Regions from separate parts of the Homo sapiens genome. Here region 1 is linked to region 2. Evidence: promoter capture Hi-C in human tissues and cell types (Jung and others, 2019). All regions are on one chromosome and are shown on one strand. Each heading gives the region's core, a stretch centred on a gene start or on the middle of the fragment in contact. The rest is flanking DNA. Distances are from core to core; before and after follow the strand shown.

Evidence for each region. The method cuts DNA at HindIII sites, captures the fragments that hold promoters and counts their contacts. A contact is called where the count stands out against the background at its distance.
Region 1: a fragment that was not itself captured here is called in contact with the fragment with the promoter of HAPLN3 in region 2 in 1 of the 25 tissues and cell types used here (mesendoderm cells).

The regions. Positions count from the first base shown.
Region 1 is chr15:88,720,448-88,727,563 of GRCh38, reverse strand. No RefSeq gene overlaps it. Among named protein-coding and RNA genes, the nearest start is that of ACAN, 79 kb to the left of the region's middle. The HindIII fragment of the contact is 6,960 bases long and covers 1-6,615 here.
Region 2 is chr15:88,890,463-88,897,388 of GRCh38, reverse strand. It overlaps HAPLN3 (hyaluronan and proteoglycan link protein 3), which reads left to right and starts at 1,845. Exons shown (of 5, transcript NM_178232.4): 1 at 1,845-1,930. RefSeq lists enhancers at 1-11, 2,008-2,619. The HindIII fragment of the contact is 23,597 bases long and covers 1-6,926 here.

The sequences.
Region 1 (7,116 bases), core at 1,886-4,385, 170 kb after region 2:
GGTGGGAAAGCACGCTGCTCTACAGGACTCCAACCTCAAATGGTCGGGCACCTGTCCCAAACAGCCCCAGCTTCCCTTAATCATCACTCTGACTCTCCCACCCCCAAAATAATCAAAACGCTCCTTGAGCCTATTTTTGTTTGCCTCCCTACCATCTCTAGGATGGATTAATTCCAGATGTTTGCAGCTTCCTGAGTAAAGCATTGCTTCCTATTATTTCTCCAAAGGCATCCTTTTTTTTTTTTTTTTTTTTTTTTTGAGACGGAGTCTCGCTCTGTCGCCCAGGCTGGAGTACAGTGGTGCGATCTTGCAAGCTCCGCCTCCTGGGTTCACGCCATTCTCCTGCCTCAGCCTTCTAAGTAGCTGGGACTACAGACGCCCACCACTATGCCCAGCTAATTTTTTGTATTTTTAGTAGAGATGGGGTTTCACCGTGTTAGCCAGGATGGTCTCGATCTCCTGACCTTGTGATCCGCCCACCTCGGCCTCCCAAAGTGCTGGAATTACAGGCGTGAGCCACCATGCCTGGCCCCAAAGCATCCTTTTCTAAACTTCTTGGGGGTACTTTGTTTCCACCACAAGGTTCAACTGCTGAACGTTCTCCATACTCTTCATGCCATCACACTTGGCGCACCTTCTCTCTTCTTTCCCTCTAGAAAATGAATAAGACAAACATTTAAATCTATGGTCAGTGTAAATCCCTCTATGCTTTGCTAGGTGTAATTGCTCTTTCCCAAACCTCCCTTTGTGTAGCAATGTCTTTCTCATGGTGAATGGGACATAAGTCATGACAACATGAAAACCATGCCATCAGTTATGCCTTCAGAGTAGGATTCAAAGAAGAGTATGGCATGAAAGTCTCCTTTAGATCTGTCATCTGCCTTCTGCTCTGGCCTCTCTCTTGGTACCCTGCTTCCCTCCCCCATGCCCCCTGCCATCTGCTAAGCCCTCAACTAAGTTTTCAAGGCACTGTTCTCTGTACCTTTGGACATGGGGCTTCCACCACCTGGAATGTCCTTCCTTTTCATCTGGTTCTAGACCCAGCTGAGGTCCCTAGAAACCTTCCCTGAGGCTCCCAATGCCCCCGTATCCCCTCATTCAGAGCATTTCACCCACTTGCCTGTCACTGTCCGTTTAGGATTCCCCATCAGGCTACATCATTTCCCCGCTGCCCTCACCCTCCTCTGTGATCTTCACAGTGGAGGGACTGTGGCATCATTGCTGACTTGAAATAGCTTGTATTATTGGTTTGGGATGTCTTGTGTAAAAAGTTCCTGGAATCATGTTTTTTACCTATAAACCATGTCAAGAAGGGCCATTAAAGAAAAGGCATAAGGGTGGGAGAATTCAGTGCTTCTACGAGAGGAACTTCTGTTTCAGAATACACACAGAAGAAAAATGTTGGGAATTTGGACGACCAGGTGGTGGTGGAGGTACACTGGGGTGGCCCTGCCCAGCAATGCTTACAGCAGGGCCAGGCTTAACTCCCTGGCTGAGCTGGAGGCTACCAGCTACCTCTCAGCTGGGGCCCCTTGGTTCCTGTGCTTGCTTGGACCCACTTCCCAATTTTGAAAAGATACCTTTTCTTTTACGATGACTTGTAGTTTCATCAGCTGAGCCACACAGGTTCATTTTTTAGCAGCCACTTCTTTGGAGCCATAGCTCACATCTTTCCTGGACTTTCAATATGGGATTTTAAAATAGTCTTGTGGCTTCCTGTGAACTGTTTACTTGTAAAACAGGAACACATTATATTAATTTCTATTTTTTCCGAACAGTATTTTTCTATAGTTCCTCTTACTAAAAATGACAGATTTTTTTTTTTTTTTTTTGGTTCTTCCCCTATCACCAGGAGGTAAAGTTTAGTGAAGTTGTGGTGTGTTGAGGTGGGAGGTTTGTCCAAATATCTCCTGTGGAAGACCCAGGTCACTACACAGGACCAAGTTTCATGTGTGTCCCTTCCCTGTGGGTTCTAAACCACAGTGCCTGCACTGGGCCTTGCTTGTTTATCTTCTTGTCAAACAGCCCTTCCATTCTGTGTTTGAATGTGGTTCTTGCTGCTTTCATATTGGGCATGCAGTGTCATGCACGACCAATGTGGGTAGACATGGAGCTGCCTGTCCAGAACCCCATCAGCACAGTCCTTCCCTGGCAGTATTTGTGGGAGGAGAAGAGCTGCAGCATGGTTGAGCAGTGGGCAGCTAAAGATCCAGTTCTCTGGAAGCAGAATTGGCTCCACTGTGGTTTGGGACCAGCGAGCTACAGCCAGTGTGCAAGGGTCTCACTGAATAGTAGGTGCCCACTTGGGACCCTAAATAGGGAGATGTTCCCCTCAGAGACCTTGCTCTCCCTGGCTTCTCTGGTAGATCCCTTGTCCTTTCCAACAGGGCACATCCACTCTGTTTACACATGCAAGAGGTAATTGCAGAGCACCGTTAGTAGACCATTGCTCTCACACTCAAATGTAACTTGAGAAGACTTACTTAGGTAGCTTGGACCAGGACCTCCCACCTTCACCTCCAGGTTAATCAGATAAGCAGTGCCCTTCCAGGGACCACCTGCTTTTGTTTCACTTTTATCTGTCTCCATCCTGAACTGAGGCGGGTAGCCCTCTGCGTGGCCCTTTCGGTGCCCTTCTCCTTTCAAATCTATGGCTGAACTCTTCTTAGAAGATTACAGGCTGGGTGCAGTGGCTCACATCTGCAATCACAGCACTTTGGGAGGCCAAGGTGGGTGGATCACTTGAGGTCAGGAGTTCGAGACCAGCCTGCCCAACGTGGTGAAACCCTGTCTCTACTAAAAATACAAAAATTAGCTGGGCATGGTGATGGGTGCCTGTGGTCCCAGCTACTTTGGAGGCTGAGGCAGGAGAGTCCTTGAACCCAGGAGGCGGTGGTTGCAGTGAGCCAAGATTGCACCACTGGACTCCAGCCTGGGTGACAGAGTGAGACTCTGTCTCAAAAAAAAAAAGAAAAAAGAAGAAGATTACGTTATTATTTTATCTGGACTAAAGTATGCTGAGTATTATGAATAAAGCTTCTATAGACATATTTGTGCATGTCTCTTTGGTGAATATTTGGACTCCTTTCTGTTGGCTCTGTACCCAGAGGTGGAATTTCTGGGTCATACAGTGCTGTTTACCTTTAGTAGACCCGACCAAACATTTTTCCAAAGTGCTTGAACCAATTTACCCTCCCACCAACCATAGATGAGAGTTCCAGTTGCTCCGAGCCCTTGTCAGTCTTTGATTTCACTTTTTCTGGTGGGTTTGTAGTAATGTCTCATTATGGCTTCAGTTTGCACTGATGAATGATATATATATATTTTTTTCTGAGACGGAGTCTCACTCTGTCCCCCAGGCTGGAGTGCAGTGGCGCAATCTGCTCACTGCAAGCTCTGCCTCCTGGGTTCATGTCATTCTCCTGCCTCAGCCTTACAAGTAGTTGGGACTACAGGCGCCTGCCACCATGCCCGACTAATTTTTGTACTTTTAGTAGAGACAGGGTTTCACCGTGTTAGCCAAGATGGTCTCGATCTCCTGACCTCATGATCCGCCCACCTCAGCCTCCCAAACTGCTGGGATTACAGGCGTGAGCCACCGCACCTGGCCCGATACTGGGTATTTTTTTTTTTTTACAAGTTTAATAGACATTTGGATAGCGTTTGTTAATATTCAAATCTTTTGCCTATTTTTTTGTTATTTCTTTTTATTGACTTGTGGAGTTTCAAAAATAAATATTTTTAACAGGACTACTTTGTCAGTTATATATATGTATTACAAACATCTCCCAGTCTTTGGCTTATCTATTCATTTTCTTAGTGATGTCTTTGGATAAAGGACATTAATAAAGTTCTTTTTTTTTCTTTAGTGATTAATGCGTTTATGCCCTGTTTATAAATTCTTGCTCTCCCCAAGGTCATGAAGACTTTTTTTATGTTTTCTTATGGAAGACTGACTGTTTTACCCTCCCAACTTAAGGCCTATAATCCATTTTGAATTAATTTTTGCATGAAGTATAAGTTAGGGGTAAAAGTTAATTTTTTCCAAATAGATATCCAATTGCTCTAGTATCATTTATTGCAAGACAATTTTCCCTCATGAATAGCAATGGAACGTTTGTTGAAAAACATAGCAGCTTTATTCATAATAGCCCCAAACTGAAAACAACCCAATGTCCCTGAATGGATAAACAAATTGTGGCACATCCGCATAATGGAATACTTCTCAGCAATCAGAAGAACGAATTATTCTTGAATGAAGAATGAATAGATTATTGATGCACAACAATACGAAAGAATCTCAAAAACATTATGTTGAAGAAAGGTTGACAGAGATAAAAGAATGCATACTCGTTGGTCCATTTATATGAGGAAAAACTAATGTGTGTTGATAAAAGTCAGAACAGGCCAGGCAGGTGGCTCATGCCTGTAATCCCATCACTTTGGGAGGCTGAGGAGGGCAGATCACAAAGTCAGGAGTTCGAGACCAGCCTGGCCAATATGGTGAAACCCTGTCTCCACTAAAAATACAAAAAAAATTAGCCAGGCATGGTGACATGCACCTGTAATCCCAGCTACTTGGGAGGCTGAGGCAGGAGAATTTCTTGAAACTGGGAGGCGGAGGTTGCAATGAGCCGAGATTGCGCCACTGCACTCCAGTCTGACGACAGAGAGATTCCGTCTCAAAAAAAAAAAAAAAAAAAGTCAGAACAGTGGGTCACCACGGGGAGGGGCAGGGAGGATGTTGACTAGGTAGGGCATTTTCAAGGCACTGTTCCTGTGCCAGGCCCTATCACCTGGCTGTGAAGGTCAAGAGAGAAGGCGGCATCAGTTTGGAGGCTGTTAAGAATGCAGAGTAATGCTGCCTGTTTACATCTCTGCTGGGTTATTACCAGTTCTGCTCTGAGCAGCCTTGCGGGCAATTGGACCTTTCCAGGACTGTGTCAGGGCATTAGTTCCTTTCTGTAGAATGCCAGAATGTGCAAACTCCTAGAGTCCTAATCATTAGGTCTAAAAGCCATTTTAAGACTTATTGGGCTGAGCCTTCTCATTTTTGTAGATAAGACACCTGGAGCTGACAAGAAAGGGAACATTTCTAGGAGCTAAAAGAATTCCATCATCATCACGATCTTTGTCCTCATGGCTACTAAGATTTTGAAGACTCTGGCAAGAAAGGGAACATTTCTAGGAGCTAAAAGAATTCCATCATCATCATGATCTTTGTCCTCATGGCTACTAAGATTTTGAAGACTTACAATGACTTACGACATGCCAAGCACTGTGCTAAGGCTTCTGATTAATTCTCCCAACAAGCCTGTGAGGAGTGTCAGTGTTAGCTCTCAGTATAGAGGAGAAGTTTGGAGCTTGAAGAGGCCCACTTCCTAGCTCCCATGGCCATGCCTGCTAGCCTCAGGCTGCGTTGAGTCTATGTCACCTGCCTCTCTGGGCCCCTCCAGGGCTTCCATTTCTCAAGCACGTGGTTTCTGTAGACCCAATGATTACATGGTTTTGAGTGGTCCTGGCCCTCTGTTCTGGGATGGTCTGGAGCCACTCATGGCACCCTCATGGGTCCTCCCCTGTCTGCTCTAGCCCTGAGGCTGCATTCATAGAGGAGTTTCCTCTGCAAGTGCAGGTGTGGTGGGCCTCACTCAGAGCTGGTTCCATTGAGGCAGCTTGCATCTTCTCTCTCTTCTTGGCTTTGTCAGCATGGTGTTGGGCCAATCCCATTTGGGCTTCCCTTATGAACCCAGCCTTGAGGGGTAGTGTGAGGCGCCTTTTTGTATGGGCTTGTAGAAGATTCATGAGCAAGTGTGAATGATGGATGATTAATCTTCACACAAACCCACAGTTCCCCCTCAACCCTGGAGTCCCAGATTTCCTCAGTCTTTCCCTGTTGGGTGGGGACTTTACAGATAGAAGTGACACACAGAGAAGAAACCCTAAACCAACTTCAGATTTCTTTCCCACCTTGTAAACCATAAGGTCATGTACGTACGTGCATGTATGCACGCACACACACCTTCACGGGGGTCAGAGCCATGGGCTTCCAGATTGGGGCTGTCTTTAACTGGAGAGGCAGATCTGTGCAGCAGGATTTAAGGGTGGGTGCTGGACGTTTACTTTCTTCTTGACTCATCTGACCACTACCTAGTGTCCCCTTCCTTTTGTGTAGGTGATGGGACCCTGCTGGGATTCCCTGTCCACTAGATCTAAATCCAGCTGCCTGCAGCTGCACTGAGACCAGGAGAAATAACCCTGGGGGGTCTCAGCCAACTGCAGTGGGATGTTGTGTCCACTGGGACATCTGCCATGGGCATGAGAGAGCTGGGATGGACAACTCAGAGATCAGGGACCTTTGCCCCTCTGCTCTCAGGAACCAGAGACAACCCTCAGCAGCCTCCTGGCTACCCCATTTTCCCTGGGGAGAGGAAGGGAAAGTGAGGGACAGAAAAGAGAGGAATAAGAAGGAAAAAAAGGAGGAGGAGCCCCTTTCACTTTCTCAACCGTGCACCCATCATGCCCTTTTGGATCCCTTCCCTGAGGAAAATGTCAGGGTGGGGGACCAGCAGGTGTTCATCCCTAAAGAAGTGACTTAGGGGTTGTTTCCAGGCAGGGCACCAGAGGTGTCTGTTTTTAAATATAATCACAGAGTTGGCTTCAAATGTTTTCAGGCCAGGCGTGATGGCTCATGCCTGTAATCCCAGTATTTTGGGAGGCTGAGGTGGGTGGATCACCTGAGGTCAGGAGTTTGAGACCAGCCTGGCCAACATGGTGAAACCCCGTCTCTACTAAAAATACAAAAAATTAGTCGGGCGTGGTGGTGGGTGCCTGTAGTCCCAGCTACTTTGGAGGCTGAGGCAAGAGAATCACTTGAACCCGGGAGGCAGAGGTTGCGGTGAGCTGAGGTTGTGCCGTTGCACTCCAGTCTGGGCAACAAGAATGAAACTCCGTCTCAAAAAAAAAAAAAATGTTTTCAGAGTATATTGGGGCCAAAAGTTGGGTCCTGTACAATCATAAATATAGGACACTGGTCTGTGCACTTACTGTTCCAGCCAACAAATCTACAGAGTCCCTACTGTGCTAGGTCTGATATAGTGATGAGAACACAGTCATGAT
Region 2 (6,926 bases), core at 596-3,095:
CCAGGCCGTGGTCTTCGTAGGAACTGAGGATGGGGGACTCCCTTCCCCTGGGTGTCCCTTGGCCTACTGCCTCCCGTTTCAGAGCTCTCTTCTGCGGAGCGGTGTGGATTGGGTTTAGAGCCAAGCCTTTCTGCGTGCTTCCAAGCCTCAGGTCTCCCTCCCGGGGGAGTTTCCTGCCCTGAACCCCTGTTCCAGCATACCCTGGGGATAAGCAGACAGTGGGAGAAGCATCTCTGCTCTGGGATGGGTTGGCCACAGCCTTCTAAAAGTCCCCCTCCTGGGACCCTGGAGTGGAGTCCCCTCACTCCTGACCCCCTCCTTCCTTCCTTGGCTTCTCTCCCTCAGCAGTGTCTTCCATTTGCCCAGCTTTTACCATCACCCCTACACATTGACTTTTTTCTGCCCCACTGCAAGGCAGAGGGTGAGCGTTCAGATTCCACCTGCTGGCTACCCCTACCCCTGGCTGGCATGTTCAACTCGACTTAACTGTAGCAAAATGTGCTCTCCCTACTGTCCATCCTCTCCCCTGTCGGGAACCTGCAGAGGGACCTACCTTGGCTCCCCTTTGCCCATCAAGCCTGGCGTTCCTTTTAGGTGTAGTTTACCTGTTGATCACAGTTCTTTGTGCTCCAATGTGCCCCTGGCTGTGTGTAACACACACACATGCACACACACACACACACTCATGGGCCAACTTGAGCTGTGTTTAGGAAGAGGCTCTGAGCTCTGTGACCCTGTGACCCTTCGACCCTTCCCCCAGCCAAAGCTGAAGGACCTCCTTAGTCTTTTCTGCTGAGGAAACATCGGGCTGTCCAGGCCAGGGCCCCCATTGGTCTGGACAGGAAAGAAAACACCCTGTCCAAACAGAGGCATCCTGAGCGGCTGCCTGGATGGCTGTGCTGATTAGCAGGATTCCGAAGGGAGGCCCACCCCTGTTGGAGGACCACTCAGAAGCCTGATTGCCCCTGCAGGCTGCAGAGGTATCCCACCCTGTGTCTCCCCTCCCAGCCAGGGCCACTCATTCAAGCCCCATGTGCTGGGGATAGCACCTGCTATGTGCCTGACAGTGAGTTGGGAATCTGGCCAGTGTTTCATGATGGCCAAACTCAGGGGCATGAGGACATCAGCAACCCCTTGCTTTTTTTTTTTTTTTTTTTTTGAGACGGAGTTTTGCTCTTGTTGCCCAGGCTGGAGCACAATGGCATGATCTCAGCTCACTGCAACCTCCGCCTCCTGGGTTCAAGCAATTCTCCTGCCTCAGCCTCCCAAGTAGCTGGGATTACAGGCATGCTCCACCACGCCCAGCTAATTTTGTATTTTTAGTAGGGACAGGGTTTCACCATGTTGCCCAGGCTGGTCTTGAACTCCTGACCTCAGGTGATCCACCGGCCTCCACCTCCCAAAGTGCTGGGGTTACAAGCATGAGCCACTCACTGCACCTGGCCTCACCCCCTTGCTTTCTATTTGGAAAAGAAAGTAATACAGAAGTCTCACCCCTTCCACAATCAAAGGTGGGGAGCAGCCTTAGCCCCTAGCAGAATGCTGGACAGGGGCTTCCCCTGCTTACTCCCACTGTTTTTGGTATACCAGGCTTTCTAAGGGGATCCCCCCTCCCCAAACTCTCCTATTCCACCCCTACTCTCCTTTCCCAAGACGTGAGGGCCTCAACTCTTGCACACCCTCTTTGCGGTGGTTCCCAGCGAGTCTGGAGACCGCTCAAGCCTGCAGCAGCTCCTCCCTTCGAGCCCAGCCCTTGGGAGGGAAAGGTGCGCGTGTTCCTTTAAGGGGCTGGTCTGGCGGGAGCGCGGGGGTTTTTCTGCTGCCGCTTCCTTTCTGCCCTTTTAATTTCCCCGAAATCAGACTGCTGCCTTGGACCGGGACAGCTCGCGGCCCCCGAGAGCTCTAGCCGTCGAGGAGCTGCCTGGGGACGGTACGTGGCTTAGGGGTCGCTGGGCTTCTGGGGCTGTGTGCGGGCCGGGTTCCTCCCTTACCGCTTTGGGTGCCCTGCGGGTCCCCACACCTCCCGGGCAGGGTCCGGGGAAGGGGCAGGAGGCGTGGGCCGGGCACTGCGGAGGCCCGGGCTGAGATGGGCTGTGATCGCGGGCGAGGGGCGCCCGGGGCACAAGTGGGGAGGGAGCGGCGCGGGGATGCGGGCGCCGGACCCTCGTGCCCACCGTGAGGGAGCAGAGCCCGAGCGGACCCCGTGGCCTCCGAGACCACCGTCCGCCTCCAGCCCCCTTCCTGCCAGGGTCCGCTTGGCTCTCTCCCCTGTCGTCTGTCCAGGGTCGGCTGCCTCCAGTGCCGTCCGCGGCGCCCCAGGCCCTGCCCCTGGGTATCTGTTGGATGCTCCGGGGGCCCCGGGAGTCCTGGGAGGGGCTGAGGGCAACCTGCGAGGCGGCTGGCGGACCTGCGCCTCTGGACCGCAGCTGGCCGGCTCTGGGCGCCTGGGGCAAAGGCAACTGATGCCTATGGGTTCCAGACCTCGCTCACCGGGGTTCTTGCCCCAGGGACAGCGAGGCCAGAAGGGTAGGGAGGGTGGAGGGCAGAGCCCTGGGTGGGAGATGGCGACCCTCAGGGAGAAACGTAGGCTTGTGCGCAGCCAGTATGGAAACAGCACGGCACTTGGACCCAGTCCTGCCACCAGCTCGTTGGCAGCCACAGGCCACAGGCAGCCTGTAAACCTGTTGGGACCTTGGTGTCCAGCGCTGACCCGCGGGAGTGCCTGTGCTCCCTGGAGTAGGGGGCAGCGATTGAGAGGGGCCCTGGCTTCTCTCCCTCGACGCCGCCCGGGCCAGCGGATTGGGAAACACCTCCGGTTTTCATTCTCCTGGGGGCTGCAGGTTTCAAAGGCGGAGATCAAGCCTTGTGCAAACAGGGACAGGGATGTCAAATTTCTCGCTGGGAGCAGCGCTCGTGCAGACCTCGCGGGCGATGCTGCCTCCTGCTGGTACCTGGGGGACTTGTACTCACGGAAGGCCCAGTGCGGACATGCACCTGGCAGGGAGGTGGCACCTACCCTCCCTCCAAGCCCAGGCTTATTGTTCTTGGGTGGAGGGGTCCCTAGGCTGGGGCGCCTGGGAAAAGCAAAGGGCTGGTCATCAGGAAACCTGAACTTTCTCTAAGTTCGAGATATTTGACAAAGATAACGCCTTGGGTAGTTCACTGACCTCCACTCTCTTGGCCTCAGTTTCCTCAACTGTGAAGAGGAGGCAGTGGTGACCACTTTGTCTCGTAGGCAGTGAGAGAGGAGAAAGAGCCACTGAGATGGTGTAAGACTTCACTGTGTGAACTGCTCACCAGAGTAGTAACAGGTCATATTTTCCCAGTGCTTGCTCCTTATCAAGCATCAAGCAGTATTTTCAGTGCTCTGCAGCTATTCTCTCCCTTAATCTTCACGAGAGTGTTTTCTGTTTGGTATTGTCGTGACCGCCCCCCCCACCCCAACTTTTTTTTTTTTTTTGAGATGGAGTCTCACTCTTCTTGCCCAGACTGGAGTGCAATGGCTCAATCTCGGCTCACTGCAACCTCCGCCTCCTGGGTTCAAGCGATTCTTCTGCTTCAGCCTCCCGAGTAGCTGGGACTACAAGCGCTCATCACCACACTCGGCTAATTTTTGTATTTTTAGTAGAGATGGGGTTTCACCGTGTTGGCCAGGCTAGTCTTGAACTCTTGACCTCAGGTGATCTGCCCACCTCAGCCTCCCAAAGTGCAGGGATAACAGGCATGAGGCACTGTGCCTGGCTTGTGACCCCCATTTTAAAGATGAAGAAACTGAGGCTCAGAGAGGTGCAGCGACTTGTCCAATGACAGAGGGTTAGTAAGTGGGTGGAGCCAGAACTGAATGCAGGCAGCCAATCTGCTTCTAGAGCCTGAAATCTTTGCCATGTTCATTTGTTGAGCACCTGCTGCATGCCAGGGACCAGACATCATACATCTTCTATAATTGTCACCACAGCCCATTTTTTTTTTTTGAGCTGGAGTCTTGCTCTGTCGGCCAGTCTGGAGTGCAGTGGTGTGGTCTTGGCTCACTGCAACTTCCGCCTCCTGGGTTCAAACAATTCTCCTGCCTTAGCCACCCCAGTAGCTGGGATTACAGGCATCTGCCACCACACCCAGCTAAATTTTGTATTTTCATTAGAGATGGGGGTTTCACTGTGTTGGCCAGGCCAGTCTCGAACTCCTGACCTCAGGTGATCCACCCCCTCAGCTTCCCCAAATGCTGTAGGATTACAGGTGTGAGCCACTGCACCCGGCCTTAAGTTCCTTTTTTTTACAGATGAGGAAATGGAGGCACAGAGAGGTGAACTTGCCCGAAGTCACTCAGCAGGATGCAGTGTGTCCAGCTCCAATACCGAGCCCAGGTCTGAGTGCCCAGACAGGACTCCAGAAGATTTGGGGAACTATCCACTGCCAAGGTGACTGGGCTGGACTTGGTCTTGGGCCTTCCAGCTGGTGGCACCTCTGTGGTGGTCCTGAGGAGTTGGTGGCTGGATAGCCATGGTAGGGGAGCAGAGGCTACCCATCCCTCCCCTCAGTGGTAGTGGTCAGGGATGGTCAGAGATGGACCTGAGGCAAGGCAGCAACCAAGTGGCAATTGCCACTCCTGACTCCCACACAGGACTCTGTCCTGTGCACTGACCTTAGCATTCAAGGCTGTGCTTGTCCTCAGCCCCCGAGTTCCCCTTTAGTCTTCTCTGGAGAGAGGAAATTTTCTGTTCAGAGAGGTCAAATGACTTTCCCAGGGTCACCCAGCTAGCAGGTGGCAGAGCCAAGACCCAACCTCAATGAGTTTAACTTGAAACCTTGGGCCTGTGTGCTGCTCCTCTCTCAGAGAGGCCTGGAAAATGGCCAGCTTCCTCCTGGCCTTTTGTTCTTGGGCACAGGGCTGATCTTTTCTTATAATTCCTTTTGTTTTTCTTTTCTTTTTTTTTTGAGATGCAGTTTCACTCTGTCGCCCAGGCTGGAGTGCAAAGGTGTGATCTCGGCTCACTGCAACCTCTGCCTCCCAGGTTCAAGCAATTCTCCTGCCTCAGCCTCTGGAGTAGCTGGGATTACAGGCACCCACCACCACACCCATCTATTTTTTATATTTTTAGTAGAGACGGGGTTTTACCATGTTGGCCAAGCTGGTCTCAAACTCCTGACCTCAGGTGATCTACCCTCCTTGGCCTCCAAAGTGCTGGGATAACAGGTGTAAGCCACTGTGCCCAGCTAATTCCTTTTGATTTTCTTGGCATCCCCCTCAATGTGAGGTTACATTACTGCTGAGTTAGCATCCAACAAAGAGGTGTTACTGATGTCACTTAGTGGCAGAAACGCCTGCATTTGTTTACCCTTAGGAAGCCCTTTCTCACTAGGGAGCATTTGTGCTAGATGAGCCGCTGTAAGAGGCTGGAAACATTATAAGCAGCAGCTGGGAGCCCCTCTGCTCAAGGAGACTCTAGGTGCCCAGGGACAGCGGGGAGCCCAGGACATCAAGCTCAACATCAAATCTTGGCCCCACTTCCCTCCTGGTTCCAGGTGTGGAGCCTGAAGGAAGGCAGAGGAAACGAACTCTTACAAGGGTTTGCTCTGGGCCACTGGGCTGTGTGTGCCACACAATCACCTCCCTGAATTTGGCATGGTTCCAGGCTTTGGGGCTGGAGTGGGTTCGAATCCTAGCTCTGCCACTTCCTAGCTGGATGACCTTGGGCATATGACTTAGTCTCTCTGTGCCTTGGTTTTTCCATCTGCAAAATGGGAACACTACTAGGCTCACATGTCAGGGTAGTGGTAAGGATTACATGAGAGATACCAGGTGTGGTGGCTCATGCCTGTAATACCAGCACTTTGGGAGGCGGAGGCGGGCAGAACAATTAAGCCCAGGAGTTTGAGACCAGCCTGGGCAACATGGTGAAACCCCATCTCTACTAGAAATACAAAGAATTAGCTGGGTGTGGTGGCACACACCTGTAATCCCAGCTACTTGGGAGGCTGAGGCAGGAGATTCATTTGAACCCAGGAGGCAGAGGTTGCTATGAGCCGAGATCTTACCACTGCACTCCAGCCTGGGCGACAGAGTGAGACTTGGCCTCAAAACAAAAACAAAAATAAAATAAATGAGAGAGTAAGTGCTCAGCTGTTAATACTTTTATACTGATCATAGTAATGCTGTGGTGTGTGTATTTGTTAGGACAAGTGAGGCTAAGCTGTGTTGACAAAGAGATGCAGGCCGGGTGCAGTGGCTCACGCCTGTAATCCCAGCACTTTGGGAGGCCGAGGTGGGCAGATCACCTGAGGTCAGGAGTTCAAGACTAGCTTGGCCAACATGGCGAAACCCCGTCTCTACTAAAAAATTACAAAAATTAGCCTGGTGTGGTGGCAGGTGCCTGTAATCTCAGCTACTCAGGAGGCTGAGGCAGGAAGAATTGCTTGAATCTGGGAGCAGAAGTTGCAGTGAGCCGAGATTGCACCATTGCACTCCAGCCTGGGCGACAGAGTGAGACTTAGTCTCAAAAAAAAAAAGATGCAAAAAAGTGGTGGCTTAAATATGATAGGACTCTGTTTCTCTCTCATAGGACAGTGCAAGTGGAGGAGGTCCAGGGCTGATGGGCAGCTCTGCCATTCAATCTGTGGTTTCCATCTCTGACTCTAAGCTGGATACTGTGGTTTCCAGAAGGTTGGGGGAAGGAATACCAGGGAAAGGCATCTGTAATTGTTTTAACTGCCAGACCTGGATGTGGCATGTTATTTCTGCTTGCTGCCATTGATGAGAACTGAGTCACATAGCTCTCCTAGCTGCGAGGGAGGCTGGAAATGCAGTCTTCAGCTGAACGGTCGTGCACCCATCTAGACCTCTGTTACTTTAGGAGAAAACTAGAATGCATTGGCGAGAAATATACCAGGGTGAGTTTTATGATCTCCATTTCGCAACCGAGGAAACTTGC